Regions from separate parts of the Homo sapiens genome. Here region 1 is linked to region 2. Evidence: promoter capture Hi-C in human tissues and cell types (Jung and others, 2019). All regions are on one chromosome and are shown on one strand. The core of a region is centred on a gene start or on the middle of the fragment in contact, and the rest is flanking DNA. Distances in the headings are between cores, read along the strand shown.

What was found. Contacts are between HindIII fragments. The study calls those that stand out against the background at their distance.
Region 1: a contact is called between a fragment that was not itself captured here and the fragment with the promoter of MYRF in region 2, in 1 of the 25 tissues and cell types used here (spleen).

The regions. Positions count from the first base shown.
Region 1 is chr11:61,930,432-61,933,131 of GRCh38, reverse strand. It overlaps a transcript of RAB3IL1 not described here. Among named protein-coding and RNA genes, the nearest start is that of RAB3IL1, 14 kb to the right of the region's middle. The HindIII fragment of the contact is 6,912 bases long and covers 1-2,700 here.
Region 2 is chr11:61,751,314-61,754,013 of GRCh38, reverse strand. It overlaps MYRF (myelin regulatory factor), which reads right to left and starts at 1,378. Exons shown (of 27, transcript NM_001127392.3): 1 at 1,224-1,378. The coding sequence starts at 1,269. RefSeq lists silencers at 1,229-1,328, 1,449-1,588. The HindIII fragment of the contact is 21,501 bases long and covers 1-2,700 here.

The DNA of each region.
Region 1 (2,700 bases), core at 44-2,543, 180 kb before region 2:
TTTATCCTACCACAGTTATGGTCCTATCATGGAATATTATACAGCAATAAAAATGAATGAACTGGCCAGGCATGGTGGTTCACACCTGTAATCCAAGCACTTTGGGAGGCTGAGGCAGGCAGATCACAAGGTCAGGAGTTTGAGACCAGCCTGGCCAACATGGTGAAATCCTGTCTCAACTAAAAATACAAAAATTAGCTGGGCATGGTAGTGCAAGCCTGTAATCCTAGATACTCAGGAGGCTGAGGCAGGAGAATTGCGTGAACCTGGAGGCAGAGGTTGCAGTGAGCTGAGATTGTGCCACTGCACTCCAGCCTGGGCGATAGAGTGAGACTCCGTCTCAAAAAAAAAAAAAAAAAAAATGAACTATAGTTACATAAAATAAGGTAAGTCTTGGATATAATGTTGAGTTAAAAAAAAGTTCTAGAAGACTTTATCACTATTTTCTATTTATGTCTTTGATTTCTCTTTTATTTATGTCTTTTATTTCTTTTTAATGTCTTTTATTACATTGTAAGCCCTATAAAGCTTAGAATGTAAACCTCATAGGGCAGGGCCTTGTTTTGCTCATTGCTATACACCCTGTGCCTGGAAGAGTGACTGTCAGGCAAAGAAATACCAAACAAATAACTGCTGAATGAATGAACTATTAAAATGGATATTTTTGAAGACTGATATAAGCAAATAAAAAATCTTACAGTATAACACTAATTTTTTTATAAACCAGAATCCCAAAGTGCTGGGATTACAGATGTGAGCCACCATGTCCAGCTAAGGTGGTCTTTTTCAATTTGAAAACTCATATACTTCAGTTTTGGGAAATAATCTTGAATTATTTATTTGATGCTTTACCCCCTTCATTTTCTTTTCTTTTTTTTTTTGAGACAGAGTCTCGCTCTGTCTCCCAGGCTGGAGTGCAGTGGTGAGATCTCGGCTCACTGCAAGCTCCACCTCCCGGGTTCACGCCATTCTCCTGCCTCAGCCTCCCGAGTAGCTGGGACTACAGGCGCCCGCCACCACGCCCAGCTAATTTTTTGTATTTTTAGTAGAGACGGGGTTTCACCATGTTAGCCAGGATGGTCTCAAACTCCTGACCTTGTGATCTGCCTGCCTCAGCCTCCCAAAGTGCTTGGATTACAGGTGTGAACCACCATGCCTGGCCAGTTCATTCATTTTCTTCTGTTGCTTCTTTATTCAGATATTGAATCTTCTAAATTGATTCTCTACTTTTCTAATCTTTTCACTATTTTCCATTTCTTTCTTTCTGAAGGATATTCCCTCAACTGTGTCTTCCAACCTTACTCATTGTTTTCATTTCTACCATCATGCTTTTAAAAAATATATTATTTTCCAATAGTTTTTGTTGTTCTGTGAATGTTTACTTTCATAGAATCAGGTTATTATTTCATGAATGCAATACCTTCTTTTCTCATCCTGAGGTTATTAATGCCTCTCCTTCTTCCTCCTCCTTGCCTTCCTTCTCCTCCTCCTCCTCTTCACCTCCTCTTCTTTTTTCTACAGAGTCTCTGTTTCCTGCAAGTTGCTTTTCTTCTGCTTACTGGGTTTGGTCTCTCTTAAGGTAGAGGTTCTCCTTAGTTGTCTAATAATCCTTGATTGCTCATTATTAAGAGCGAGATCTTAAAAACTGATGGCAAGCATGTTGACTTTGAGCTGGATGGATATTTTGTTGGGTAACATTCGTCTTAGATCTCTCTTCTTGGGTTGGCCAGAGTCCCATAGAGGGGCTGTCTGGAGGGTAAAAGTCTGTCTTTACCCTCCTGGTGACTGAGTGAGTTGCCACTTTGGCTGACAAGTGACAGAAGAGGGTTGGAGGTCTTGGATTTCAGTGTGTATATAATCACTTAACCCTCTTATTCAGCTACTGGCCCAAAGACCTTCTGTTTTGCCTTCTCCAGAGAATAAATCTCCAGTGTTATGCTAGACTAAGAAAGGGGCAGTTGGCCAGTGGCATGGAGTAGAGGAGGGGACCTAGGGATCAAATTGCTTATCGGTTCGCTTTGATCTAGTGCTCTATACTTCAGTTACTACCAAGGCCAGTGGTCTCTGCTGCCACCAGCTCCTGATGTTTTGCTGCCTTGATGTAGCCGTAGTTCAGAGACATTTGTTGACATCTCACACCATAATGATAGATGTGTCTATTTTCCCCTGTAGCTTTAATTATTTTTGCTTTAAATATTTTAGGCTATTTTATTAGGCACATATTAATTTAGATGGTTATATCTATCTGGTGAATTTTTTTTAAACATTGTCATCACTTTATTATTACTGCATAGTGACCACCTCTACACTAATAATGTTTTTCGTCTTAAAGTTTGTTATTAATTTGGTCTTTTTAAGACAGGGTCTTGCTGTGTTGCCCAGACTGAGTGCAGTGGCATGATCACAGCTCACTGCAGCCTTGACTTCCCAGGCTAAAGTGATCCTCCTGCCTCAGCCTCCCAAGTAGCTGGGACTACAGGCCTGCACCACCACGCCTGGCTAATTTTTGATTTTTTGTAGAGATGGGGTCTCCCCATGTTGCCCAGGCTGGTCTTGAACTCCTGAGCTCAAGTGATCCTCCCTTCTCAGCCTCCCAAAGTGCTGGGATTACATGCATAATTCACCATGATTCGTCTTAAAGTTTGGTTATTAATGCAGAAATACCACCTTGCTTTTGGTGTAACTTTTTCAAGCTCACCC
Region 2 (2,700 bases), core at 129-2,628:
TGGCCTTAGGGACTAGAGGGAGCTCGGGGCAGGGGCTGGGCTCGCTGCATTGGTAGACAGGGGCACAAAAGGGGGCCAGAGGGTCTGGCTAGATGTTCCAGGGAGGTTCTGAGAAGCGGAGTGGGCTGGGAGGCAGTCAGCCAGAACTTCCCCTCCCCCTCCCACTGCGGTCCCATCCCTCCAGAACCCAGCACCAGGAGGAGTGGTGGCCCTGCAGGAGGGGCAGGGGTCGTCCAGGAAAAGACAGGGAGTTGGTTAGATGGAGGAGCAGACCTCCAAAACCAATGTAGGGGTGGGGGCAGAAGAAGATATTATGGGGTGTATGTCAATTCCACCCCAGAGGGCTCCTTTCGGTCAAGTGGGGGTGAGGTCACTCTTTGAGGGGGCGAGGTCAGAGAGGCACAGCTCCAGGGTTGGGGGGACATAGTGCTGAGGAGCCTCAGAGGGCTGGTGGGATGCAGTTCACAGCACTAGAAGGGTCTCAGAGAGCAGAGGTGACCGGTGGCAGGGATGTCAGCTTCAAGAAGGTTCCAGCCCCAGGAGAGCATGCTAGGGAGGGGGGTCCCAGCCCCAAACAGGAGAGCAGTCACTAGGCAGCATTGTGGAAAGCAGGTGGCAGTCTCCAAGGGGATCCAGGCTCGAAAGTGGTCCTACCCTCATGGAAGCACAGTGGGGAGGTCCCAGCTCCTAGAAGTCATGGGGGATGGCGCCAACCAGAAGGGCACACAGGGGGTCTTGGTCTCTAGGCGGGGGTCACAGATTCTGGGAAGCAGGCTGGGGTCCAGCCTCAAGAGGTACGGAAGGTCCTAGAAGGCACACCGGGGGTCTGGGCCTTGAATGGGGTTGTATCCCGCTTGGGGTTCTGGGGAAGCAAAGTAGAGGGTCCCCAGACTCGGGAAGTTTGCTGGGGGCGAGAGTGTCACAATTTAGGGAAAGTTCCGGGTCCTGGAAGGCTCAAAGGAGTCCGGACCTGGAAGGGGACACAGTCCCAAGGAAGCTGCGAGTTGAGGAGCGGGGAGGGGGAGCCCAACTTCAGCGGCGGTGGGTGGTAACCGCTGGGGGACTCCCAGCCCCGGGAGCCTGTCTTGGCGGGCTGGTGCCAGCCTGAAGGAGGGTCCCAGCCAGAGGAGGCGGAAACACAGCGAGGAGCCCCAGTTCCCGGGGAGATCAGCCGGGGGTTCCCAGCGCCAGAGGGTCGCCGCCGCCAGCCCGCGGTCTCTCACCTTCGAAGAAGCGCTGCAGCGCCTCCGTCTCGTCCACCACCTCCATGTCCCGCCTGCCCGGCGCACACTCCAGCCGCGGCCCCGCTACAGCCCGGCCCGGGGGCGCGGCATCGCCGGCGCGGCCCGCGCGACAGTCCCGGCTGGGCTCCGGCTACGGTCCCGCCCGGTCCGCCGCCGCGCTTGCCCCCCGCGCGTCCCTGGCCCGGCCCCTGCCCGCCCCACGCGCCCCGCCCGCCGCGCCCAGCGCCCCCTGCCGGCCCGCGCCGCGCCCAGCCCGGCCGCGGGCACCACGCTCCCGACTCCTGCAGGCGGCGCTCAGCGCTGGGCAGTCCTAGGCTTGCGGGGCGCGGGGCCGTCCCGGGTCGGGGGACGCGAGACCGTCCCAGGCTTGAGGGGCGCGGGGCCTTCCCGGGTCGGGGTGGGGGCGAAGGGCCGCTTGGCCTCTGTGGGGTCGGGACTGGAAGGGTGTGCCCTCGCCGTCCTCGCCTTCGTCTTGCACGGGACAAGATGTCACGATTCCGAATCCAAACCTCAGAGACAGCCCCCATCCCTCTCGTTAGCCACCCACACACCCCGCTCAGCAACAATAACAACCTGCATTTAGGGAACGTGTGTTATGTGCCAGGCCACACAGGCATTATCTCATGTACTCCTCACAGGCACCTTATCAAGGAGATGCTGTTGTTACCTGCATTTTACAGATGGGGAAACTGAGGCTCAATGCATTAAGGACTGCCAGGAAGCCCTGTCCTGTGGCTGTGATGATGGAAATGTTCCCTGTGTTGTTCAGTATGGTAGTCACTGGCCACAAGTGAGCACTGGAAATGTGCCTATTGAGACTGAGGAACTGATTTTTTCATTTTGTTTAATTGTAATTAAACAGTTACGTGTGGCTGTGGTATTGGACAATGCAGGTCTAAAAGCTCCTTTTTTTTTTGAGATGGAGTTCGGCTCTGTCGCCCAGGCTGGAGTGCAATGGCGCGATCTCAGCTCACTGCAACATCTGCCTCCTCGGTTCAAGCGATTCTCCTGCCTCAGCCTCCCCAGTAACTGGGATTACAGGCGCCACCACGCTGGGCTAACTTGTATTTTTAGTAGAGACGGGGTTTCCTCATGTTGGCCAGGCTGGTCTCGAACTCCTGACCTTAGGTGATCAGCCCACGTTGGCCTCCCAAACTGCTGGGATTACAGGCATGAGCCACCGCTCCCCGCCCTGCCTAAGAGTTTCAAGGTCATTAAAGTTCAGAGCCAAATCCTGGCTGCCCCGGGAATCCGAACTCTCCTTTGCCGTGGCCCTGTCTGGTATAATGAAACCTGGAGGTTCTAACTCGATATAAGTCCAGGATAAAGCGGTTGTCCTTGTGCCCCTGCCTTCACCCTTATGACTGACTGCCTCCACATCTCTGTCCTGCCCAACTTGCACAGCCTCTCGTCTCACTGATATCCCCTTCAGTTCTCCCAAATCACCCTTTCTGAA